Linked DNA regions of Homo sapiens: all the other regions are linked to region 3. The links are contacts of gene promoters, found by promoter capture Hi-C in blood cells and fetal thymus (Javierre and others, 2016). All regions are on one chromosome and are shown on one strand. Each heading gives the region's core, a stretch centred on a gene start or on the middle of the fragment in contact. The rest is flanking DNA. Distances are from core to core; before and after follow the strand shown.

Region 1 (3,604 bases), core at 919-3,418, 300 kb before region 3:
TTAAGTTATACTTAAAATTTTTATCCATTTATTTATTTATTTTGAGATCGGGTTATGAGACTAATTTTTGTATTTTTGGTAGAGATGGGGTTTGACCATGCTGGCCCAAGCTGGTCTCAAACTCCTGGGCTGAAGTGATCCACCCGCCTCAGCCTCCCGAAGTGATCCACCCACCTCAGCCTCCCGAAGTGCTGGGATTATAGGTGTGAGCCACTATGCCTGACCAGGACGTCATTTTAGAATCCATGGGAATACTACTACAATAGTAGTATTGTCTAGTGCAAGCTTGTCCAACCCACAGCCTGAGGACCATGTGATGGCTTTGAATTTGGCCCAACACAAATTCATAAACTTTCTTAAAACATTATGAGATTTTTTTTTTTGCCTTTTTTTTTTTAAAGCTCATCAGCTATTGTTACTGTTAGTGTATTTTTTGTGTGACCTAAGACAATTCTTCCAGTGTAGCCCAGGGAAGCCAAAAGATTGCACACTCCTGGTTTAGTGGTTAAGAGCATGAACTCTAGAGGCTGACTGCCTGGATTTAAACCTAGCTATGTGACTTTTGTCAAGTCATTTAGTTAGCTCAGCTGTTAAAAATGGACAGGGATAATATGAATATCTGCCTCATAGAATTGGTTTAAGAATTAAATGAGTTAATACCTTTGAAGTGCTTGGCACTGGTGTGATGTAAGTATTTCCTATTATAGTTATCCTGATTTCTAGTAAATATGAGATAAATTGATCTGGTAGTTATTGATGTCAAAATGCCTTTGTTTACCCCTTGGGTTTTTGGCTCTGAATAATTGTTACGATATTGGGAATGTTGGACATAGAGCTCAATACTTACTTTGCTTAATTTATTGACCAACGCTGAGCAGTCTGAAATTGAGTAATGTTTATTACTTTCTCAGTTCCCCGGAACCAACTTCAGTCAGTGGCAGCAGCCTGTAAAGTTCTAATTGAGTTTTCTCTCCTGCGTCTGGAGAATCCAGATGAGGCTTGTGCTGTGTCCCAGGTGAGAGTGATGGGCCCATTTCTTGCCCTATTCTGAAGCAGTGTTGTGACTGACTAGTGGAATAGAGTAGAGGTCAGTGAACTTTTTCTGTAATAGGCCAGATAGGAAATCATTTGCAGGCTGTATGTTATCTGTTGCAGCTAGTTAACTATGCCTTTTTAGTGTGAAAGCAGCCATAGATTAATATATAAATGATGAACATGGCTGTGTTCCAGTAAACTTTATTTACAAAAACAGGCAGTGTTTGAATTGGAGCTGTAGTTTGCCAACCTCTGGTACATGGGGCTACAGAGTCTTCTCAAGGATTGCAAACTTACATACCTGCAGGGGCCAGGTAGGTAACAGAAAATGAGTAAAGTGTGCTAGTTGAGAAGATTGCAGGTCCCAACTAAAGGGGCTAACCACTATTTGGCTCTGGGTTATTACTGCCATGCAGGAATGGAGGTGCAAGGTTGCTATACTGTGAATTATTTGAGCGTGAGAATTTCAGATTTGCATGTGAATCTTTTCATTCCCTTCAAATTTTAAAAAAATATTGTGAGAACAATAAGACAAATCTATAAGCTACATACGGTCTAAGGACATCAGCTTGCAGTCTTTGCTTTAGTGTTTATATGAACCTAAATTTGGCCCTGTGCCAGTTAGAATTTCCAAAAGAGTAGAATTTTCTGAAAGATCTATTTGTTTTTGTTTTCTTTTGTTTGCATTTGTTTTCTTTTCAGAAACACTTGATTCTCCTAATCAAGGGCCTGTGCACTGGCTGTAGCCGACTAGATAGAACTGAAATTATCACATTTACAGCAATGATGAAATCCGCCAAGCTGCCCCAAACAGTGAAGACACTTTCAGACGGTGGGTGTTCCTTTGACAGATCTGATCACATGACCACCCCCATGGCACCTTTTCCATGGCACCTTTGCCTTCTAGTGGCACTTTCCTCAGCCCTTTTTTTTGCCTTTGTATTTTACAGTGGAAGATCAGAAAGAGCTGGCCTCACCAGTAAGCCCTGAGTTGAGGCAAAAGGAGGTACAGATGAATTTTTTGAACCAGCTGACCTCAGTTTTTAACCCTAGAACTGTAGCATCACAACCTATCAGTACACAGACTCTGGTGAGTTTCTTTAGTCAAATGTCTTCTTCTCTGTGGGTTTTGTTAAGATGATAACACTAGGGGAGAAAAAGTGATGTATTTTATGTTTGTGATATAAAATGATATACATGTCTGTGGGACAAAAGAAATTGAGGAATACAAAATAAAACAAGTAAAATTCACCCCAACTCCTTCTTCTGTCCACGGTTATTACTGTTTTGACGACCATTCTAGGCTTCTCTCAATGCAAATTAACAAATGTAAGGTGTATGTACAGTTTTCTATATAAAGGCATCACTCCATTTTGGTTATAGAACATATATATATTTTAAAGCTGTATATTTTTTCCCTCCTCCTGAAAATGTAACCTGTATTTTCTCCAACATGAGTAAGGAATTTTCCCTTCACTAACTGGGGAGTCTGGAGAGTATCCGTGCAGCTACTGCTCACTTTTGACAGTTGGTTTGGTGAAGAGATAATAGTATCTTGACAGGCCTTATGTTTCTTTTCAGGTGGAAGGAGAAAATGATGAGCAGTCATCTACAGATCAAGCCTCAGCTATCAAAACCAAGAATGTGTTCATAGCTCAGAACGTGGCTAGTCTTCAAGAGCTTGGTAAGACTCCCAACTGTTATCAGAAAGCTGATTTCTGGGCTGTCAAAAATTCCTTAAGTGTGCTTCTGTCATATGGATAAGAATCAAGCATCAGACAAAGGCCTGTTTGTAAGGTTGTGGTTTTCATTCATTTAGGTGGCTCGGAGAAGCTACTGCGTGTATGTTTGAACCTGCCATATTTCCTACGCTATATCAATCGGTTCCAAGATGCAGTTTTAGCTAATTCCTTCTTCATAATGCCTGCAACAGTAGCAGATGCCACTGCTGTTCGTAATGGGTAAGGTGCTTCACAGTGCACATGCTTTACTTTTTTTGTTTTTGGGACAGGGTCTTGTTCTGTCACCCAGGCTGGAGTGCAGGGGTGCAGTCTCGGTTCACTGTAACCTCGTCTCCTGGTTCAAGCAGTTCTCCCACCTCAGCCTCCTGAGTAGCTGGGACTACAGGCACACACCACCATGGCTGGCTAATTTTTGTATTTTTTGTAGAGTCGGGGTTTTGCCTTGTTGCCCAGGCTGGTCTTGAACTCCTGGGCTCAAGCAATCCTCCTGCCTTGGCCTCCTGAAGTGTCGGAATTATAGGCGTGAGCCACTGTGCCGGGCCCATGCTGATAATTTCTTTAACTGTCACATTATAGAAGTGAATGATTCTAAGAGACACTTGTTGATCTCTGTCATGTTCCAGCTTTCATTCATTGGTGATTGATGTAACTATGGCATTGGATACCCTTTCTCTACCTGTGTTGGAACCTCTCAATCCTTCTCGTCTACAAGATGTGACAGTCCTCAGCCTAAGTTGTCTGTATGCAGGTGAGAAGTTATTATATCTGGTCTCATTTTCTCAGTCAAGCAGAGATATACTTTCAGGAAACCATGAAAATCCTCCTGA
Region 2 (3,745 bases), core at 1,039-3,538, 270 kb after region 3:
TGATACAGCTCTGAACTCACCAACTCTGAGCTCCTTGCTGGTGGGTTTGAGGGGACGCCCCAACTGAATGATCAGGAGTCAGGGTGGGGTGATCAGAGGTTCCTGAATTCTTCGCTTTCTGAAGCCAGGGTGACCAGTAGCCTCAACCTCGGGACACCGAGTCCTGGGGGCGAAACGCCCTCCCAGCGGGGCAGGACGCCACAACTGCAGGCCTTTTGTCTCCCGGGGGAAAGAGCGTCTCTGGCCCCACGCTGGAGGCAAAATACAATAAAATGAACCCAGCCCTCAATCTCACCCCCTGCCCGCCCTCTCTCGGCAGTGGGGTCAGCCTTGTCTTAGCCTGGGGCGCTCACCGCTGGCTGGCCCCAGGGTGTCCCCATCCCTCCCCTTCGCCTCACCTGTGACCTTTGCCCCTTGCAGCATGTGACAGATCTCCCTCCTCTCCCCACTCTCCTAGCACAAGGGGCTCATCAGATTTTGGGGGGGCCTTCTGGGAATGGGGGCCCTGATGAAAAACTTGTTGAGCTCATACTCTCTCTAACTGAGAAGACAGATGCCAAGTAGCTTTCGAATTGGAAGGGGGACACCGGGGTACTTTGCCTGGCCCAAGTTATGGGGCCCTCCCCCGGGAGAGATTGGGAGATCAAGCTTTAAGCCATAGCATGTGTGCCCAGGGAAGACAGCAACCCCCTTACATCACCAGCCTTGCTGGGGACCTGGCCTGCTTTGACCTCCATAGGTGGATATATATTCTCTGTGTGTATATATACATGTATTTGTATCATATACACTTATGCATACACACGTATAACACACACACATATATATTAGGTATATTGCATATTCATCCATTCATTCGTCACTAGCTGTCCTCTGCCTGGAAGGTTTCAAGGCACTTCTTCCCTGTATTTGTGGAATGGGCCAGTGTGCTTGCGTGTGAATATAGGCCTGTGCCCGGGTCTGTGTGTCAAGGTGCAGGTGGGTTTTGTGTGTAGGTCTGTTTGGGGTCAGTTTGAGTAAATGTGTGTTTCTAAGTGAGGGTCCATGTCTGTATTTCTGCTTTGAGGTCACCTCCAGGTTGCCTTGGTATGGCTCTAAGCGCGCGTCAGGAATGTGTGAGTGTGTGTTTAGGTCAATTCTCAAGTGAGAAAAGACCTCCAGGGTGTGCCAAGGGTGGGAGGCTCCCTCTCTTCTGGCCAGTGCTCATGTAGCATCTTGAGCTGAGTGGGGCGAGTGCATAGCTGGACACTTCTGCTGCCAGGGACCCTCAGAACCTCAGGAGTCCTGCACTGGGGCCACCTTGCCCACAGTGTGGTCCCTCACCCTCCCTGCAAAAGACTCACAGTAGTGGGTGCAGTAGCGACACAGGCCCCCAGGGTTTCTGCAGCTCCGGGATTCCATGGGCCCTTGCAGAGGGAAGGGTTGAGGTGGGGTTGTCTATTGGAATGAGCGTGGCCGTTCTTGCCTGTTGGAGACCAATTTCACAAATGATTTTTGCAACAATTAAGGAGTGTGGTGGGGTGAAATGGCGATTTCACATCCAGCAGGGGAAAGGGGGGTTCACCTGGGAACTGTGGCTGGGGATGGGGGAGAGCCGCGTCCCCTCCTCTTGTTTCCCTTTGCTTACCCCCTTGTCTAGAAAAAGTCACCCCCATGCAGGCTTAATCAACTCCTAAGACCTCCAGTTGCTGCTGGGAGGGTGTGAGGGCTTCTGAGTGTGTGGGCTGGGCCAGACTTGTTCCAGAAAGTTTTCCTTTAGCCCTTGACCCCCTCTTTCTATCCCTGTCTCTCCTCACCCTCTTTCACCCTCTTTCTCTCTGTCTCTCTCTCACACACAAACATTTTTCCTGTCTCTCTTTCCCCCTCAGTCTATCTTATGGTCTCCTCCATCTGTTTTGTTCTTTTGGTCTCTCTTTCTCTTTTCCTCCTTGCCTTTCTGGCTTCACCCCAGCGGCTTTTCTCTGGGACTGTCTGTCTTGTCACCGCCTCCCCCATCTCCATGGTTTCCTGAGGTATGTATGGGCCTCCATTGCTCTCTGGGCTGTAACTCAGACCTGAATCCCTGGGAAGATCCTTTGGTCCAGATGAGGTTGGCTAAAGACCTTGGGGAAGAGATCCTCCTTCTCTGCTTGGTCTTGGGGTGCATCTCCCGGCCCGGCCCAGCCCAGCCCACTAATCCGCCAGGAATCATTCCCGTCTCAGTGTGGTCTGGCTTGGATGATTGTCTCCTATCTCTAGCTCACCCCGTCTGGTCTGAAATCTCTGCATTCCTCCTTTTCCCTTTTCTTAAAGGCAACAACAATGCTAATAGGAATTCTTCTTCCCAAGTTTCCAAGTGGCATCTTCCAAACCCAATTTGGGTTTGGAAACGGGAGAGAAATAAGTAGGCCCAAGGTACAGAAGCAAGACCCCAGCTTGAGTTTAGCTGGGGAAACTTGGCCTGTCTCTGGCTGCTCCCTCCCAAGACATAGGCCACAAAGAGGCTCCCTCCTCCCTGCATCCAAGTGGCCAACAGCCTCTTCCCTCAGCCCGAGGGAGAGGACGCTCTTTATTTCAGTCCCCTGTGTCATGAGCACTTTTGGAAAGTGATTACCCAATAAATATTCCTTTAAAGGGTGATAAATCCACCTTGAAAACCAGGGGTTTTTATTTCATTGGGGGCCTTTGCATTTTCAGAGGCTCTGGCCTGCTCTGCTAGAGGAGGCCAAAGACATCAACAAATGGAATTACTCAGTCTTCAAATGTTTGATAATGAGAGAGGAGGGGGTGGGCGTGGGGGTGGGGAGGGAAACTGAACATCCAGGAACAAAGGACTCTCAGGAGTCTCCTTCCAGGTTTCGGAGGCTGGAATTCCTCAGCGCTACATTTCCAAGAGGCACCGACCTTTTATTATTATGCTTTTCTTTTAAGAAGTGGCACTCTTCTAGGGGTGAGCTTGAAATAATCTGCCCAAACCTGAATAGAAACAAAAAGGAAAGTTGATAGCTTGCTTGACATTTTCATTTTCCCCAGAAAAATGGAATAGTATGCACTGGATTCCAGTTCTCAAGAACTGGGCAAGAACAACATCACTAAAGATACAACAACAGTAATAATAACCAGGTTTCTCTCAGGCCTACTGCTAAGTGGGCTCTCGAGTGAGCCTCCTCCCTTTTTTCTTCCTGGTCTTCTTCCTTCCTCTCCTTCTCCTCCTCTTCCTCTCTTCCTTCACCCTTTCTCTTCCTCTTCCTTCCCTTCCTTTTCTGTTTTCTCTTTCTCCTCTGTTTTCTTCCTCTTCCTCCCCTTCCTTTTCTGTTTTCTCTTTCTCCTCTGTTTTCTTCCTCTTCCTTCGCCTCCTCCTCCTCTACACCTCTTTTTTTTTTTTTTTTTTTTTTTTTTTTTGAGACAGGGTCTCACTCTGTCACCCAGGTTGAAGTGCAGTGGTGTGATCTTGGCTCAGCGCAGCCTCTGCCTTCCAGGTTCAAGCAATTTTCCCACCTCAGCCTCCCGAGTAGCTGGGATTACAGGGACCCCCCACCACACCTGGCTAATTTTTGGATTTTTAGTAGAGATGGTGTTTCACCATTGTTGGCCAGGCTGGTCTCGAACTCCTGACCTCAGGTGATCCAACCACCTCAGACTCCCAAATTGCTGGGATTACAGGCATGGGGCACTCTTCACCTCTTTTCCTTCTCTTCCTTGTGTTCTCCTTCCTCCCCTCCTCATCCTCCTCTTCTCCCTCTCCCTCTTTCTCCTTCCTCCATTC
Region 3 (3,643 bases), core at 861-3,360:
AGGGAATTTTCTATGAATGGATGATTTCCAGGCTCAGGGTGGGCTGTGTGTTAGTTCTGAGCAAATCCCTCACCAAGACCCTTCCCTCCCAAGCCCTCAAAGAAATGAGGCAAAGCCCTTCCCTGCAAGACCCCTTGTGGATGTTTTTGCATCTACCTGATTTTTAGCCCCACCCAGGGAGACTTTATACCCCATGATCCTGCCCCACCGTTGCTGTTGTCTGCCAGCTGGGTCTAGCATCACAGGGAAGGGGGGGATTTATACTCATGGAAAGACTACTGATCCTACCGGAAACCAACCTGTTTACTGTACTGTTGTAAATATCATGCCCTTTATATCCTGTATATTGGCTTCTTTTAAATAAAGTGAAATGTCTTAGAACTGATGGTGCTTTTTTTTGTTTTTGTTTTTAAACAGAAGATGAATCTGGTGTTGGGGGAGGGGTAGGAGGACGGAAGGCCACAGAAACCCTCAAACTCATTAGTTAATTAGCCATAAAATAGGGGATTTCATATCACCTGTTACATTTGTAGCTCACAATAAAAGCTTTGGAAGATGACAAAGCAGGAATCATTACACACATTTTACTGAAGGGGAAGAGAGGACATGAGACATCACAGGCTCAGTAACTGGCTTGGCCTGGTTTGGAACTGATGTCCTTTTAACCACAAAGCCCCCATTTTTCCAGGCTCTCCAACGTGCCCACAGGAGGTCACCTTCCCAGGCTCTGGATTTGACAGTAACCAATGTTCTAGTTTTTCTTGTCAATGGGCATGTTCAGGGCAACATTGCCCAAATGTGAACTGAGCCCACCTGTCTAGGGTTTTCTCCAAAGGTGAAGACAAATAGCCGCCACCAATTCCAATTTGCTTTTTGCCATTCCTAATACTTGGCATTTAGGTAATCTCCCTCTCCTACTCTTCATTTAAATGTTTACATTCTCCCAAAGTACCTCAAATGGTGTAATCTGGAGAAAAATAAGTGGCTTAAGATCACGGGGGCTTTGTGAGTTGGGTACTATTACTTCCGTTTTACAGATGAGGAAACTGAGGCCCGGAAAGGATATGTAGTCTGCCTAGTGCCCTGCTTGAGGAACCAAAATCAGCATGGGAACTGACTCCTAAGCAGGTGCGCGGTTCATGCTGCTGGAAGAAATATAAACAAATTAGAACAGAGAGTAAGGAAACGTAACATTACTTTAGGAATAGATTGGGTCCCTGAGACCTCGTCATCAGAGAAGACTTCAGAATCCAAGTTTTAAATAGCATTCTAGTGTTTACCAAGCACACAACATTTTGCAAAGAAAGCTGAAATTTTTACTTGGGGGTAAAAGGCTCAGGAACAACTGGTTTTGCGGCCAAAGGCTTTAAATGAAAAGCTAAGCGTTGGCCAGCTCAGGTTTTATCTTGCATTGATCGTAATCTGCAAGGAAGCTAAGAAGCTGGCCGGCCCCGCGCCTGGAGGGTAGGTGGAGAGCGGCTGGGTCCTGGCCAAGAAGCTGGAAGGCAGGCTCATTCCAGGGGCCGCAGCCCCCGGGAAGAAGCAGGGGGCTGGCCGCGCTGTGGCCCTGCGGGGTCGAGGAGTCTGGTAGCGGACAGGTTTCCAGCCTTGTACAAGCCACCGGCAGCCCGAGAGAAGTCAGTCGGACTCCCATCGAACCCGGGGCGCACGCCAGAGGGCCGGACGCAGCGAGTCCTTCTGCCCCGCTTCAGCACGTGTCCCATTTCGGTTATCTCATTGGCTCTATTCAGCCCCTCTCTGCTCCGCTTTGGAAGGCTGCCGCAGGACCGCCCCGCTGATTGGTTCAGAAGCTTTGGTGTGTCACTCTGACTGGTCGACAGAGTTCACGCCCTCTCTCCCGGGTCATACCATAAAGAGAGGAGGGGAAAACGCATGCATTTCAGGACTTCGCTTTCGGGTTCCCTTGTCCTGTGTTGTGTAATGCCCCCGTTATGGCACTAGAAATATTTTTTATTAGCCGAAGCTAAATATAGTGGGACTTTGGCTGATCCCGAGCTCGGAGGACAGCCGGGGTGATCCGTTTCCCCCCGAGGATCGAGGTGGTGCGCTCTGGACGGGGTTGTGCATTCTCGCCGCGCCCGGGCGGACGATCCAGCGAACAGCCCCGCTTCTAACCCGAGATGCTGCTGCCGGCGCCCGCGCTCCGCCGCGCCCTGCTGTCCCGCCCCTGGACCGGGGCCGGGTGAGTGAGCACGGGGCCCGGGGCGGCCCGAGCGCGCGCCTGGGGCCCGGGAGCCTGAGAGTCACTGGGCGTCCCCCGCGCCGCACTCCCTCCCTGCCGGACCCCCAAGCTGCCTCGGTCAACGCCGGGTTCCTCAGGGGCTCCCCTCCGACCCCCACCCAGGCCTTTCTCCCACTGAGATCCCTTAGCCTCCTCCCTCAGGTAGTCACCTTCCTTTAGCGAGGGGACCCCTCTTCCCGAATCCTGCGACCGAGTAGGGTGCCTCGGTGGCCCTGCCGGTTCCCACGCTCGGAAAGTAGCCTCTGTAGTCACTCACCTCACTCCTAATACTGGATCTTCGCAATTTGCTGGCTTCCCCTGAGGGGCCCTTCTATTTTTAGCACACCACACATCTCACTTCCCCACCCTCGTCTCACGTTCAGTGTCCCCATCCCGCCCCGGATTCCCCGAGTCCTCTCCTTCTACCAGGATTTCTACCTCTCTCTTTTCCGCTCCCCACACACCCCGCCGCCCGTTTTTTTTTTTTTTTTTCAAGTTAAATGTTGGACAGAAAAAAGGATTCCTTTCTTCTTGTAGGTGGAATAATCATATTTATAGAGTGCTTATAATGAACCAAATGCTGGCCGGGCAATTGGCAGGTGTCTTATGAGGATTAAATGAGTTAATACATGGGGAGTGCACTGAACAGTGCCCAGCACAAAGGCAGCGCCCGGTTATTATTATTGCCACGATCATCATCATTATCACCTCTATTTAAACTTCTCACTCCTGTGAGGCAGGTCATTATTCCAAATAATGAAGAAACCCAGGAGCAGTTCAGGGGTGGACCTGCCCTTCAAATCCCGATTTGCAAACCTGACATTGTGGAGCCAGGTGCCTGGACCCTTGCCCACTCAATGACAAATATTCTCAGAGCCCCTCCAGCTCGGAGCTAGGTTTGGAGAGGTAGGTGGGACACAGACCCTGCCCCAGAGGGGTTCCTAGTCTGGTGGGGCTGCCCACCTGTGGATCAGCCCCCCCTCCCATTTGAGGTTTGTTTGCTTGACCCCTGGGGCTGTTAGTGGCAGTGTCTTTCCTGATGAGCTGTGCCCTTTCTGAGTTAATCAGTGGCCCTCTCCCTTCCCCCAAGGGATGGCATGGTGGTGCTCTGAGCACAAGTGAGTTGCAACACTGCTGTGTGTCCTCTGTGGGTGAAGAGGGGATAGGAAAGGGCGCAGGAAGAGGACATGGGACAGAGGGGTTCCTCTTCTAGGCTGAGACTGGGGCCACACTTGCCATACTCCCTGTGTGATCCCGTTTGCAGGCCTTCCCTGCACTCTGAGACTCAGGAAGATGGAGCTTATAGAGTCCTGTGTTTACTGAGTGCCTACTGTGAGCTGGTGCTCTGCCAAACACCCTAGAGATGAGGGGTACCCAGGGAATTTACATGGGGTGGGGCCT
Region 4 (3,322 bases), core at 99-2,598, 270 kb before region 3:
GAAGCAATTCCAGGCCACAAAAACGGATAGCTGATTGCAGGTCTGCTAAGCAGAATGTCCTGCCCTCTTTTGGTTAATTGGTAAATTATTGGGGAGCCAAAGTTGTCTTGGAATAGCCTTTTTGGTCTGTGAAATGTGCAGAATACGGAACAAATTATTTGTATGTGTGTTCTGCCATTTTCTGCTAGGTGCACTCTCTAGAAAGATCTGGAGAATGGACTTGGGGGCCAAATCTCAATTTAAAATCAGGACTCTATACAGTTCTGGTTTAAAAGTTGTATTTGGAGTAGTTCGTACTGTGAGGGAGATCTTGAGGCCATACCAAGTGCTACCTCTATGCTGCTTTTCCTTTCTCCAGGAGGCCTGTGCCCTTCAATATTACTTCTTGATACTGTGGAGGATCCTAGGAATTTTACCACCATCAAAGACTTACATTAACCAGCTATCCATGAACTCACCTGAGATGAGCGAATGTGACATCTTGCACACTCTGCGATGGTCTTCTCGGCTCCGGATCAGCTCCTATGTCAACTGGATAAAGGTAACACAGAGCTTGCTGCTAAGACTATTCAAAGCCAAAGTGCTTTGTGCTTACTGGAGCTTTTAAATTTGAAGATAATGAAAGCTTTGCCTATAGTCATCTCCTAAACACTTTTTCTTGCTGTCCAAATAGGATCACCTTATCAAACAGGGAATGAAGGCTGAGCATGCTAGCTCGCTTCTAGAACTGGCATCCACCACTAAGTGTAGCTCAGTGAAATATGATGTTGAAATAGTAGAGGAATACTTCGCTCGACAGGTATGTAATATTGGAACCTAAATGATAGAACTTGGTTTCTACCATAGCCCATTGCCACAGCTAATTATATTTTGCATATTTTTAAAGATCTCATCCTTCTGTAGTATCGACTGTACCACCATCTTGCAGCTGCATGAAATTCCCAGTCTGCAGTCCATCTACACCCTTGATGCCGCGATCTCAAAGGTCCAGGTCTCTTTGGATGAGCATTTTTCTAAGATGGCTGCTGAGACTGATCCTCATAAGTCGTCTGAGATTACCAAGAACCTACTTCCAGCCACGCTGCAACTCATTGACACCTATGCATCGTTCACCAGGTGTGGCGAACTGCCTGCCCAGAGATGCACATGCACTCTTCACTCCGTGCAGATCCCGCATTGACTCAGAATTTGACATTTTTCTCTTTCTTCAGCTTAGGGGTTTTTTTCCCCACGTATAATGCTTTCTTCTCTAGTATGAAGGGGTGCTTGATGAGGAAATTTTCAAATAGTGCAGGAGGAGTCAGGAGGAAGTTTAATGTCTATAATTCTTTAAATATTTTGTACGATTTTACTCGTAGGATACAGAGAAAGGTAATTTTTCAAAACACTGTCATTTCTGTTATTAACTGAGTTAAAGCTCCTTAAATGCTCTTTATTTATTATTATTAAAAAAATTTTTTTCTGAGATGGCATCTCGCTCTGTCGCCCAGGCTGGAGTGCAATGGTGCGATCTTGGCTCACTGCAACCTCCACCCCCTGGGTTCAAGTGATTCTCCTGCCTCAGCCTCCTGAGTAGCTGGGATTACAGGCATGCACCACCGTGCCTGGCTAATTTTTGTGTTTTTAGTAGAGACGGGGTTTCGCCATGTTGGCCAGGCTGGTCTTGAATTCCTAACCTCAGGTGATCTACCCACCTCAGCCTCCCAAAGTGCTGGGATTACAGGCATGAGCCACTGTGCCTGGCCCTTAAATGCTCTTTACATGTGATGATATGTAGTTGGAGAAAAAAAAAAATCTCTAAATGAGTTAGAAATTATTTGAAATTCAACTCTTTCTATAACAAACACTGCAAATTGCATGCCCTGTAGACTTTGGTCTGTATGATGTTTAAATATTTAAAGTTAATTTCAGTATATAAAATTGGGAGATTATTCACAAGTTTAGATTTCTGGCTTTTCTTAAATTGGAAGAACTGGCAAAACTGGGCCTGACTTCCCAAACAACAGTAACAGACTGGAGCTGAGAATTAGTTCCCTTTGCAGCAGTTTTCACCGGGCTCTCTTAAGCTTATTGACTTTATCTGGTCCCTGTAGGATCTCAGTGTTCACTCCTGTTCTATGGTGCTTTTTTGTTTTGAGATGGAATCTCACTGTGTCACCCAGGCCGGAGTGCAGTGGTGCGATCTCATCTCACTGTAACCTCCACCTCCTGGGTTCAAGTGATTCTCCTCAGTTTCCCGAGTGGCAGGGATGACAGGTGCATACCACCATGCCTGGCTAATTTTTGTATTTTTGTATTTTCAGTAGAAATGGGGTTTCTCCATGTTGGCCAGGCTGGTCTTGAACTCCCGACCTCAGGTGATCCACCTGCCTCAGCCTCCCAAAGTGCTGGGATTACAGGTGTGAGCCACCGTGCCCAGCTCTGTGGGCTTTATGCTGCTTTAAAGGGACCTAGATCTTTGTCAGACTTAACTAACCTTGTCTCTTAGTATGACTGCCTTGCAGAAGATAGAGGGCTGTTGTTTGAGGCAAATTTTTTTTTTGGCTCAAATTTGTTTGAGCCAAACAAATATGTATGGCTGCTACGTGCCAGGTACTTTTCTAGGTGCTAGGGTTATGGCAGTAGCCAAAGCAGACCAAGTCATTGCCCTCTGGGAATTTACAGACTCTAATCTGGCCTAATAGGCCAGTACTTTCCACACTGAGCTGTTAACGTTCCTGGTCAAGTAAGTTTGCAAAATGTTGGATAAACAGTTTTTTTTGTTTTGTTTTGTTTTAAAAAATATAGTATTCAGAGCCTTTACTGTATACATTGTCAATCTTCTGAGGTGGGGAAGGAGGATAGATATAGTATTCACTGTTTCTCAGGCTTACTTGTCAGGCAGTCATGTTTTGGGAGCATTTCAGAGGAGGGGACATTCTTTGGGAAATGATTACCCATTGGAATTCTTAGAGACCAGGAAGGGGCAGGCACTATCAACTACATTAAATAGATAGGAAACTGAGATATAGGGTTTTCAGCCAGTCTAGGGCCAGTTTTTCCTAACTGGTGGGATTAGAATCTTATGGCTTCACTTTCCCCCTGTTTTTTCCCCAGAGCCTATTTGCTGCAAAACTTTAATGAAGAGGGAACAACTGAGAAACCTTCCAAGGAGAAACTGCAAGGCTTTGCTGCTGTTTTGGCTATTGGCTCTAGCAGGTGCAAGGCAAATACTCTGGGTAAGAGAACAAATGTGCTTTTGAGTAATATTATTACAACAGCTACTACTGCTAGTACTATGGCTTCTCTCCCTTGGTGCCTACTGGCGTTTACTATTTATTGG
Region 5 (3,536 bases), core at 136-2,635, 500 kb before region 3:
GCCTCCAGACTTTGGCTGGCTGGTTTCCATTCTGCAGAGATAAGGGTCATCTGACACCAGCTGCACAGTCCGCCCTGGTGAGGGTCTCTCCCCCTCCTCTTCCTGATTGCTTGCTAGGCACTTTTCTTCCTGCTTCTGCTCCCTGAATGAGGAGCTGACCCCGGTTATCATTGGGAAAGTCTTCGGAAGCCCTGGGAGAGAAAGCTAGACAAGAGCGTGGCTGGATGGTCTAAGGCGGCAGGAAGGAGTCTTAGGTTGATCTCAGTGTCCAAGGACAAGCCAGCCTTGCAGCCTCCCAGGTCATCAGACCCCTCAATCCTCAGCCTTCCAGAGGTGCCAGGTCACCTGTGAAACCTGGGTCCTCAGGATCCTTTCTGTCGGTTTCCCAGCTTCCTTGCCATTTACCCTCTTCCTTATCAGCACTGCTCACCTCTTGCTCCTCTTTCCTCTGAATCTCTTGTCCCCTTCTTGAACCTACATCTCTAGTCTCCCCCCAGGTACCCTTTTCCCCAGCTTGAGAGCCCCCCAGTCTATGTGTGAGGGTCCTACACAACCTCCCAGTGATGGGCCTCTGTTCTGTATCTCTGGGCCTCTCCTGGGACTGCTTTCTGGTGGGGAGGCTATTTTAGCAGCTCACCTGCTGCTACCTATTCATGACCCTGATGCAGAAAATGCTTGTGAGGTGCCACTAGCCAAGAAGCAGACCAAGGCTGGAAGTGGAGTCCTCATTTGTTTTGCAGACTTCCTTGGAAACAGATTGGCCATTTAGTGCCCCCTACCACACCTTTATATGCCAGGCCAGAGAAGCCTGTTTTGGTGTATTTGGGAATTCAAATTCTACAAAATTCTTGGTTAGGTGTTTCTAGGCTGTTAGTCTGAGGATGCCTGAAATGCTTGGTTAGGAGCATTGAAGTTGATAGTGGAGTGCCTTGAAATCGAAAGGCACAATCCTGTTCAGCTCTTGTCTTTACCACGTCTTAGCTGTGTGACCACTGAGCCTCAGTTTCCTCATCTGTGAGATGGGCATGACACTAACTTCAAGAATGAGAGATGGGGGGTGTAAAGCTTCTAGCATAGTACCTGGCTTGTAGTAGCTGTCTGCATGGAGTTCTGAGGTCATGTCAAACTTGCGCAAAATACTCTGCTGTTCTCCCGGGTTTTAAGAGATGACTATCGTGTGCCAGGTACTGTTCCAGACCCTTTGCTTATTTAAACTGCACACCACAAGGTTGATCTTTTATGCCCATTTTACAGATGAGGAAACCAAGTGAGGTTTCATGAGTTGGTCCAAGCCTCACAGCTAATTAGTAAGGAGCAGAGTTGGGATCTACCCGTCTGCAAAGCCTGTCTTCTCCGTCACGCTGTTTGTGCCCAAAGCTGCCCCAGGAGTAGCTTTCTCCTTGTCACTGCAGGTCACCAGAGGATGGCTGACTCTGAATGCAGCTGTCTTCACAATTCTTAGCACCGGCAAGAAGTTACTCAGTCTCCGTAGTGGGTAGCTTCCCCCTTCCCACGTTGAAAGGGCGTTCTGTTCTGGCCTCCTGTGGTTAAAGGTGCACTGCTGATGGAGACGGAAGCATCCGTGGTAACAAGCACAAGACCCCAACATCCCAGCTGCCAGCTGCCAAGCAGTAGTGCCGGGGGGAGGGGTGCGTTGGGTTCCAGTGCACCCAGAGGCTTTGCATTGCTTACATAAAGAAGCTTCAGAGCTTTAGAAGGGATGCGTGGGGGAGGAATAGTCCCGCCCTCCTCCTTTTTTGGGTCATTGGCCCTCACTGGGCCGGACACTTCTTATTCACTAATCAGACGGTTTGCGGTTGCCCTTTGCCACATCTGTGGCTGCCTTCCTGGGCCTGTCGAGCTCACAATTAAGGTTCATTAGAGACCCTGTCAGTCATAGCACGCACAGAGCCTGCCTGAGAGAGGCCTTGCCAAGGGGCTGGCCAGCCCCATGCCCCCACCAAAATGAGTCCCTTTGCAAATGACTGCCAACCAAATTCTAGAGGCTTTGTGTACAGGAGAGGGGGTGTGAGCAGCGCTTGTGAAGCTCCAGACTCTCGGGTCCTAATGGGCCCATTGCCTTTTATGTAATTGAAACCTTCAGGCGAGCTCTCGAATTGATGTTCCAGATGGTGGCGGCGGGAGTGCTGTCAGATGGACGCTTTGGAGGGATCATCTGACAGCCGGCCCCTCCGAAAAGAGATTTGGAGCCAAATGCAGAAGAGATTTAATGATCGTTAATCTCCCTCTCCCTCTTTCTGGAATATATTGGGACTCTTAATTACTATTGACTGGAAGCTAAAACAACACTCCTAGTTCAGAACAAAACTCTTCAGGAGATTTGCCCCAGGCTGAAAGGATTATCCTTCATACAAGGGGATTTTTTTTTTTTTTTTTTTTTTTTGCCTCTTTCTAGCTATGTGTTGAACATCAGTTGGGAGTAGAGGAGATATGTACATCAGGTGTTTTAAAGAGGCTTAATACTTCTTCGCCCGCATTGTTTTCCTGTCTCATTGACCTTCCTAGTCCCAAACGCTGCCTGTAGGGGCAGCCAAATCTCCACGTTTTATCTAACGCACTGAAAGCACTGCTGTGTGCTGTAACTGTACTCTTAGCACTGGAGGGCCCTCTGGCTTCCGAGCACCTGCGGGATGCCATGATGCTCACCTCTATCCCCAGACCCTAACACAGTGCCTGGCCACATGTCGATATGGCCACAAATAAATATGAGATAATGAACCAAAAACCCTGCTATCCCCAAATTCTGAGGGGAGTCCACATTAGACATTCTAGGCTGTGTGATCTGAGACCCAGAGATGAGAAGGGACGGATGCCTCTTGGAGCTGAGCTATGACTCAGGAGACCTCAGCCCCTGGGACTCAAGGGCTGGTGGTCCCGGCAGGTGGCAGTATATGGACAGAGTCTTTAAGGTCACGGAGTCATGAGTTAGCTGGGGCTGGGAGCATGCATCCTGAATATCTAGGTGACCCTCGGTAAGCTACCAGACTCCAGGCCTCAGTTTCCTCATCTGTGTAATGGAGAGAATTCTGGATTTGCCTCACTCTAAAAGAGGACAATTGTGAATATTAAAGGAAGTCATGTAGGGAAAATACTTGGTGCAAATCATCCAAAGAAGGTGGTGGAATCCCTGACAGGAGCGGCTGGAATCCACTGCTTTCCCATGATTGCTGAGCTGTCCTTTTAAGGAGGAGGGTGCGTGCCCCTTGTCAAAAGCAGCCTGCGTTTCCCTGTTTGGCCAGATAGGTGGGTGAATGCTGCTTGATCGGGCTCTGAAATGTCCTGCCTTCTTCCAGGTGGGAGAGGGACTGTGAGGTGAGCTCAGATCTTGCAATGACAAGCGAGCATTTTTCCCATTACCTCTTTTTTTTTTTTTTTTTTTTTAACATGGAGTTTTGCTCTGTCACCCAGGCTGGAGTACAGTGGCGTGATCTCGTCTCACTGCAGCCTCCACCTCCCGAGTTCAAGTGATTCTCCAGCCTCAGCGTCTGGAATAGCTGGAACTACTGGCCTGTACC
Region 6 (3,675 bases), core at 480-2,979, 350 kb before region 3:
GCAGTGGCTGTCTCCCTGAGGTCCCTTTGATTTGCCGCAGCCTCGACCTCCTGGGCTCTAGTGATCCTCTTGCCTCAGCCTCCCATGTAGCTAGGACCACAGGCACACACCACCATGGCTGTCTAATTTTTTGACTTTTTTTTTTTTTAAACAAGCGCAAGGCCCCTGATGGGCCTCAAGGGCTGCATTTTGGCTGTAAGTTACTGTCTGCTTTCACCCCCACTGTGAGGCATGCACTCTTAGCCCCATTTTCTCATGAGAAAATGGAAGCTTGTAGAAATAACTTGCTCAGCTAGAAAGGGATGAGCTTGCAGGCCCGTGCTCTTGGACTCTAGGCTGTGACCTTTTGGCTCCAGGGCTGCCCATACCTCTCTTGAGGGCGGTGGGCAGGCCCAGCTGCCTGAGCTGTGGCTCCATGGAGTGGGGGAACTGCTCCAGGGGCCCTGGATCCAGGCTCACAGTGAAAGCTGCTTTGTTACCAGCTCGGGCGTAGTCCATTTCTGTGTATTTCGTGAACCACCTAAGGGAAAAGAGAAGTGGTAGGAGGAGATGCTCCTGGCCACGCCACCAGCCCATGAGTCAGGCTCCCCCAAGTGTCCCGTGGCCCTGGGCCTTCCCCCATCACAGACCTTGGCTGCTGGCCAGCAGCCAGCCCAGAGCACCATGCTGGAGAGGACAGAGAGGGCTGTGGTCCCAGGCCACTAGCTCAGTGACAGGCTTCCAGGAGCAGTTCCAACTTGATGCCACATATGGAACGAAGTTCCTGCATCATTCCCTCCCTGAAATCCCCTCTCACCCGCCTCTTTCCCTCCGTTCCTCAGCAGTACTTACTCATTCACCTCCTCCTTTGTGCGGTTGGTGAACAGGAGACCCACCTCACCCCTCAACCTTTTGCTGACCTACAAATCAGGAGTGAGGACAGCTTGGTCACATTAGAGCAGTGGTTCTCTACTAGGCACGTTTTTGCTCACCGGGTACATTTGGCAACATTTAAAGACGTTTTTGGTTGTCATAGCAGGAAGGAGTGGGAGGCAGGAAGCTGCTATTCCTTGGGTCCGGAGGTGAAGGGAGAACCCAGAGCTTTAAGCCAGGCCCTGCTCTCCCTGAGCCTCCGGCCTGCCAATGGCTGGGGGAGGCTGTCACATGGGAGTAGTGGGAGAGAGGGCGGCTTTGCCTTAGCTCCACCCCGTGAGGGCCAGAGACTTACCTGGTGCAGGTTGTCTTTGTATTCATCAGATGGGCTCCGACCCAAGGCCACCATCATCACCTTGTTTTTGCCAAAGAACATCCTACCAAGCAAGAGAAAGAGCATTCTGTGAAGGAAGAGCCCTGCCCTCCCCATCCCTCAGCAACATGCAAAGTAGCTCCGGTCCCCAGTGAGCTCAGGCCCAGGCTGAGCCAGTGGCACCCACTTCTCCATGCTGCCTGGCCACACTGTCCCCACGTTGGGGTCCCTTTCATTATGTTCCCACCCACAGACTCCTGACATGGCAACATTTTGTCTCCCAGCCCATCACGAGCATCATGTACCAGTTCTCTATCTGGATGTATGCGGGAGGCATGTTAACAGCCTGAACCAGAGCTGGTGCGGCAAGAGACCACCACCAGAGCCACCTGCCCCAGGACAGAAACTTGCCATGTGGCTCCTGCATCCTGCTCCCAGGTCACTGTCTGTGTCGCAGTGTCCCTACTGACATTCTAAAACTGGTGTGATGCTCCTAAATGGCCCACAGTCCAGGGTTAAAGGGCCACTTCTCCGGAAAGGCCCACCTCTCAAACATCTCCTGAGCAACTGCCAAGTCCTGCCCCTAGGAGCTCAGTGCAAAATCTGCTTTTTGAGGTGGAGTTTCACTCTGTCACCCAGGCTGGAGTGCGATGGTGCAATCTCAGCTCATTGCAGCCTCTGCCTCATGGGTTCAAGTGATTCTTCTGCTTCAGCCTCCTGAGTAGCTGGGATTATAGGTGCCTGCCACCATGCCCGGCTAATTTTTGTATTTTCAGTAGAGAAGGGGTTTCGCCATGTTGGCCAGGCTGGTCTCAAACTCCTGACTTCAGGTGATCCCCCTGCCTCAGCCTCCCAAAGTGCCAGGATTACAGGCGTGAACCACCGCACCCTGCCCAAGACCAGCTTTAACAGTGAAAAGGAAGTGCTCTTCAGTGGCAGGTAGCACTTTGTCCTTATTAAGGTGTCAGCGGCATGACCCAGGCACCTAAAGGGTCAGAAATTGCTCCTGTGCTTTGACTGAGAGCAGCCTGGCCGGGTCCCCACTCAGAAGGGCCTTCCTCCCCCTGCCCGCTCACCGGCTGTGCTTCCAGGCGTTCCGGATGTCCTTCAGCTTGCTGTTCCTCATGTTGGCCACAGAGAAGATGAAAAGGTACTTGTAGGTGTCCACACATTTCCGAAGCTGTGGGACAATTCACGAGGCTCTGAGTTCAAGCAGCAGCATACAACGGGCACTACTCTGGCCTCAGATGAGAATGAATCTGCTCTGGGCCCCTGACAACTATGGAAACTGGAAGAACTGGAGGCCTCTAATTTGGTTGTCTCCTACCTCCATTACTGAAATTAGGATCCCTAACCACAGGGGAGGCTGAGCCATGGATCTACACCCCACGGCCTTTTCCAGGTCTCTCACTTATTTATGACCAACAGTGGAACTGATCATCAGCTGTTAACCTAGAAACATTCACCCACATTAGGAAGGGTCCTGCTACATGGAAACACATGGAGCCTCTCTGTTATAAGGGGAGGCAGCTGATCGGTACTGCTCTGCACGTGGTGCTGGCCAAAGCCACCATGAGGCAGCCTCTAGGAGTGGAGTCATTGTGCAGGAGGAGACTGTTTCACCCAGCCTGCAGCCCAGGTTGGCAGGTCAGAAGCTGTACAGACAGTGGGTTGGTGCAGTCACCTACACCTGGTAAATCTCCCAGCTCTTTTTTTTTTTTTTTAAAGACAGGGTCTCACTCTGTTGCCCAGGCTGCGTACCACCACGTCCAGCTAGTTTTTTTTTCTTTTCTTTTTGTAGAGATGAGGTTTTGTCATGTTGCCCAGGCTGCTCTTGAGCTCCCAGACTCAAGCTGTCTGACCCACTTGGCCTCCCAAAGTGCTGGGATTACAGGCGTGGCCCACCATTCCTGGCCTCCTGTTTTTTGACATTAGGCAGGCTAACAAATCTCTGTAAGCTTCAGTGACCCCAAATGCAAAACAGCAACATCATCACCTAGTACCCACATCACAGGGATGTTATGAGGATGGAGTGGAACAACGCATAAGAAACACAGTGCAGGACAGGGCACAGAGTACGAGCTAGTCAAAGCTGGAAATCATCACTATGGAAGTTTTTGCTGGTGCTGCTGCTGGAGGAAAAAGGCCTGGATTGGCAGCTTGGAGATTTTTTTTTTTTCCCCACTAGTATGTTCCCCTGGCCAACAGTCCTATCCCTGGCCAACAGTCCTATACCTACCTTTATAAACCAAACAATTGCAAGCTCTAGAAAAGAACAACCTCTTACCTCTTCTATCAGGTTTTGTTTCAATTCCAAGCCTTTCTTGGCAGTTTTGGTTAAGGAGACTAATAAAAACAAAAAGGAGAGAGATGATGAGAGACCAATCTAAATGCACTGGAGACTTATTTTCTTCTCCCCTTTGGCAGAGAGCACTCAGCTGGATGCAGCC
Region 7 (3,683 bases), core at 1-2,500, 340 kb before region 3:
AAAACTAGTGCCTTCCTTAGTCCAAAGGAAATATGGGGACATAAATGAGAGCTTCCCCATAGATAGTAAGAACAAGCAGCATGGGATTTAAGATTGACCTGTGCCTGCGTTGGAGGTAGGGAGAGTTCTGTTTTCAGCTGTAGATGCAACTGAGGCCTCCCTCTGCTCTTAAATGCCTGACCATTCTGCTCCAAAGTGGGGAGCACTTTCAACTCTAAGGCCAAGGGCCTTCCCTGGAGAGGTGACCCTCTGTAAGGCAGCTGGCTAGTACTGGTCCCATTTAGGAGCTGATGCCTTGCTTTTCCCCCAGACTGCCCTAGTGAGCTTTGCCACCACTGGGGAGAAGACGGTGGCTGCAGTCATGGCCTGTCGGAATGAAGTGGTGAGTATTGAGAACAACAGTCAGCACTTGGGATTTTCCTTCCTGGTCTCCACTAGGAACCCTGAAAATCAGAAGTCTGGGCACATTGACCTGGTCAGTTTGAACCCAGCGGGCAGGAGGCTGTTGAGAAGTGAGGTCTTGCCTCAACTATAGAGCTTTCTGCACACCCCATTTCTCCCCAGGAACGAGACCCTAATGTGATGACCTTACTTTCATATGGGGCTATTAAGGGTTGAATAGGCTTTGTGGGCAGGGGTGAGAAATGAGCTTTGTCTTCTCTCAAGTGCTAAGAAGACAAAAACAAAAGCTTCATTTCAGTGACTGGGAAGTGACCCTTTGGCTGAATTTTCTCCTGTCCTTCTCTTTCTCATAGCAGAAAAGTAGCAGTTCTGAAGATGGGTCAATGGGGAGCTTTTCGGAGAAGTCTAGTTCAAAGGTATGGTGTGGCACTGGGCAGTATGCCAGACCTAGAGACGCAGGAGGCCACCAAAGAGAGTTGGGGGAAGAGCTTTGGTTAGGAGCAGGTCCTAGAGTTCCCAGCTTCAAATGAGGTTTCCTAAGTACTGTAAATTAAATGATGTTTCTCTTAATCTCATTTTACCGGGAGATTAGGAGGTAGAATCCCTAGAGTCTGTTTCTAGCCACTTTCTCCTCTGGGCCTCAGCGTCCCCATTTCTTTTGGGATCCTGGCTGGCACAGTTGAGTAGTACTCTGTGCAGTTACCCTGTAGCAGAGGCATGAGCCCCTGGCTGGAGGCATAGGTTCCTGCTGTGGCTTCCATCTAAGCGTTTCCCTGCCTCCTGTCTTGCTCAGTCTTACCTTGCTCAGCCCTACCTCTCTCTCAGAAGTCTCTGCTACTCTGTACTGGCTTCCAAGACAAGTATGGTAGTTGTAATTTCATTTATTTACTCAGGCACCTTATTTCTGCCTTAGGATTTAGCTTGCTTTTCTCTTTTATTCTCCTTTGCATATATTTCCCCTTCTGGCCTGGCTCCTTCTCTAGGGTATTTGCCCCCAATCCTTGGACTTCCTTTGGTGGGCTTTGCTTTCGGGGGATACCTGTAGTTGACACGTGCTGTCTGTACTCCTAGGACTCTCTGGCTTGCTTCAATCAGACCTACACCATTAACCTATACCTCGTGGAGACAGGTCGGCGGCTGCTGGACACCACGATAACATTTAGCCTGGAACAGAGCGGCACTCGGCCTGAGCGGGTAAGGCAGAGCCTTTCTTTGCAGACTGTCCTGTGGGCTTCTCAGCACATGGCTTCCTTTCCTCAGGGCCAGGTCTTAGCCATGGGGCTTGGATTAGGCTCTCTAAACATGTGTTCTAGTGCTCTCTGAGCCACTGACTTGTTAGAAGTCACAGTAAAGGCGGGTATTATTTATGCCAGCTCATCATTGTGCACCAGGGACTGTTCTAAGCTTTTAACTTACACATTAATTGATTTAACCCTCCAAACACTCTCATGAAGCGGTTGTTCCTGACCTGGTTTTAAAATGATTCTGTGGCCTGGTGGGATCGAGTACCATAGCCAGAGTCACGGAGCCAGTAAGAGGTGTCACTGCGGTTCAGATTCAGGTCTAACCCCACAGCCTGGACTCCTCATCACTACCCAGTATTGCCTCTGTGTGCATCTGGTTGTGTTCCTCAGCTGCTTGGGCTGTGGCTTCTTCGTTTCTAAAGCGGAAAGTCTAATCCCGGCCTCCTGCTCACTTTGTGGGGTGTGATTAGAGCATGGATGAATGGCGTGGTACCCGTGGAGTACTCAGGTTCTTCCATGGAAAGGTCTGGGAGACCCCAGCATCATTATGTTGGCTCCTAAGAATATGTATCACTTACTGGCATCCAGATAATAGCTACATTGTTTAGACATCAAATAATGCCATGGCCTGTACCTCTGTTAAGTCCAGGCTTTGACTCCTGGGGTCTGGTGCTCTCAGAGGCATTTGGATCCTCACTGACTACACCGGTCTTGACTGTGGCTTATAGCTGTATATCCAGGTGTTCTTGAAGAAGGATGACTCAGTGGGCTACCGGGCTTTGGTGCAGACAGAGGATCATCTGCTACTTTTCCTGCAGCAGTTGGGTAAGTAGACCTCATTCAACCCATTTTTTTATTTCCCCAGGCCTTCCAATGTGTTCCAATCAGACTGTTTTTTGGGAGGCTGCAGGTTTCTGGAAGAGATTCAAGTGGAGTGTGCCCTGAGTGTTTCGTTCATAGCCAAATGTCACCTGCTTTTTTTTTTTTTTTTTTTTTTTTGAGATAGAGTCTTGCTCTCTTGCCCAGGCTGGAGTGCAGTGGCATGATCTCGGCCCACTGCAATCTCCACCTTTCGGATTCAAGCGATTCTCCTGCCTCAGCCTCCTGAGTAGCTGGGATTACAGGCGTGTGCCACCACGACCAGCTAATTTTTGTATTTTCAGTAGAGACAGGGTTTCCCCATGTTGGCCAGGCTGGTCTCGAATTCCTGACCTCAAGTGATCCGCCTGCCTCGGCCTCCCAAAGTGCTGGGATTACAGGTGTGAGCCACCGTGCCTGGCCTGTCACCTGCTTTTTTTTTTTTTTTTGAGACGGAGTTTTGCTCTTGTTGCTCAGACTGCTGGAGTACAGTGGCATGATCTCAGCTCACTGCAACCTCTGCCTCCCAGGTTTAAGTGATTCTCCTGCCTCAGCCTCCCAAGTAGCTGGGATTACAGGCATGCACCACCACGCCTGGCTAATTTTGTATTTTTAGTAGAGATGGGGTTTCACCATGTTTGTCAGGCTGGTCTCAAACTCCTGACCTCAGGTGATCCACCTGCCTCGGCCTCCCAAAGTGCTGGGATTACAGGTGTGAGCCACCGTGCCTGGCTCTTTTTTTCTTTTTTGAGACAGAGTTTTGCTCTTGTTGCCCAGGCTGGAGTGGAATGGTGTAATCTCAGCTCTTTGCAACTTCTGCCTCCTGGTTCAAGCGATTCTCCTGCCTCAGCCTCCTGAGTAGCTGGGATTATAGGCGCTAATTTTGTATTTTTAGTAAGAGACAGGGTTTCACCATGTTGGCCCAGGCTGGTCTCAAGCTCCTAACCTCAGGTGATCTGCCCGCCTTGGCCTCCCAAAGTGCTGGGATTACAGGCATGAGCCACTATGCCCGGCCCCGTTACCTGCTTTTGAAGAATAACTTGGCATTCTCGGTGGGATACAGAACTTTCCTCCTTTGACCTATTGATTCCAGCCCCTTGCTCTGCCATTTCTCCTTTTATGCAAGAGCTTGTAGTAATCCCTGAGTCAGCGAGAAGAGTCTCTCTAGAAAATCTGGGA

What was found. The method cuts DNA at HindIII sites, captures the fragments that hold promoters and counts their contacts. A CHiCAGO score of 5 or more calls a contact.
Region 1: a contact is called between a fragment that was not itself captured here and the fragment with the promoter of ALDH4A1 in region 3, in 1 of 17 cell types (fetal thymus). The highest score is 6.3, in fetal thymus.
Region 2: a contact is called between a fragment that was not itself captured here and the fragment with the promoter of ALDH4A1 in region 3, in 1 of 17 cell types (fetal thymus). The highest score is 5.5, in fetal thymus.
Region 4: a fragment that was not itself captured here is called in contact with the fragment with the promoter of ALDH4A1 in region 3 in 1 of 17 cell types (fetal thymus); the score reaches 7.4 in fetal thymus.
Region 5: a contact is called between a fragment that was not itself captured here and the fragment with the promoter of ALDH4A1 in region 3, in 1 of 17 cell types (fetal thymus). The highest score is 8.1, in fetal thymus.
Region 6: a fragment that was not itself captured here is called in contact with the fragment with the promoter of ALDH4A1 in region 3 in 1 of 17 cell types (fetal thymus); the score reaches 12.6 in fetal thymus.
Region 7: a contact is called between a fragment that was not itself captured here and the fragment with the promoter of ALDH4A1 in region 3, in 14 of 17 cell types (fetal thymus, megakaryocytes, neutrophils and 11 more). The highest score is 15.1, in fetal thymus.

What each region holds. Positions count from the first base shown.
Region 1 is chr1:19,197,062-19,200,665 of GRCh38, reverse strand. It overlaps UBR4 (ubiquitin protein ligase E3 component n-recognin 4), which reads left to right. Exons shown (of 106, transcript NM_020765.3): 3 at 912-1,015; 4 at 1,738-1,867; 5 at 1,986-2,125; 6 at 2,617-2,719; 7 at 2,855-2,996; 8 at 3,401-3,525. Among named protein-coding and RNA genes, the nearest start is that of UBR4, 11 kb to the left of the region's middle. The HindIII fragment of the contact is 3,762 bases long and covers 288-3,604 here.
Region 2 is chr1:18,626,239-18,629,983 of GRCh38, reverse strand. No RefSeq gene overlaps it. Among named protein-coding and RNA genes, the nearest start is that of PAX7, 2.7 kb to the left of the region's middle. The HindIII fragment of the contact is 3,276 bases long and covers 651-3,745 here.
Region 3 is chr1:18,901,022-18,904,664 of GRCh38, reverse strand. ALDH4A1 (aldehyde dehydrogenase 4 family member A1) reads left to right here and starts at 2,110. Exons shown (of 15, transcript NM_003748.4): 1 at 2,110-2,203. The coding sequence starts at 2,142. It overlaps LOC124903866 (a long non-coding RNA gene), which reads right to left and starts at 2,552. Exons shown (of 2, transcript XR_007065519.1): 1 at 2,413-2,552; 2 at 1,294-1,855. It overlaps IFFO2 (intermediate filament family orphan 2), which reads left to right. Exons shown (of 9, transcript NM_001136265.2): 9 at 1-385. RefSeq lists enhancers at 1,057-1,874, 1,814-2,043 and a silencer at 2,124-2,343. The HindIII fragment of the contact is 9,883 bases long and covers 1,814-3,643 here.
Region 4 is chr1:19,170,658-19,173,979 of GRCh38, reverse strand. It overlaps UBR4 (ubiquitin protein ligase E3 component n-recognin 4), which reads left to right. Exons shown (of 106, transcript NM_020765.3): 23 at 359-541; 24 at 674-799; 25 at 887-1,116; 26 at 3,097-3,218. Among named protein-coding and RNA genes, the nearest start is that of UBR4, 38 kb to the left of the region's middle. The HindIII fragment of the contact is 1,441 bases long and covers 628-2,068 here.
Region 5 is chr1:19,404,410-19,407,945 of GRCh38, reverse strand. All of the region lies in intron 2 of CAPZB (capping actin protein of muscle Z-line subunit beta), which reads left to right. Among named protein-coding and RNA genes, the nearest start is that of CAPZB, 79 kb to the left of the region's middle. The HindIII fragment of the contact is 636 bases long and covers 1,068-1,703 here.
Region 6 is chr1:19,254,678-19,258,352 of GRCh38, reverse strand. It overlaps MRTO4 (MRT4 homolog, ribosome maturation factor), which reads right to left. Exons shown (of 8, transcript NM_016183.4): 2 at 3,513-3,571; 3 at 2,302-2,405; 4 at 1,208-1,289; 5 at 832-899; 6 at 369-520. Among named protein-coding and RNA genes, the nearest start is that of MRTO4, 4.7 kb to the right of the region's middle. RefSeq lists an enhancer at 3,593-3,675. The HindIII fragment of the contact is 2,913 bases long and covers 273-3,185 here.
Region 7 is chr1:19,235,930-19,239,612 of GRCh38, reverse strand. EMC1 (ER membrane protein complex subunit 1) reads left to right here. Exons shown (of 23, transcript NM_015047.3): 9 at 311-382; 10 at 756-818; 11 at 1,474-1,596; 12 at 2,375-2,471. The region is part of intron 1 of EMC1-AS1 (EMC1 antisense RNA 1); the gene reads right to left. Among named protein-coding and RNA genes, the nearest start is that of EMC1, 14 kb to the left of the region's middle. The HindIII fragment of the contact is 1,117 bases long and covers 692-1,808 here.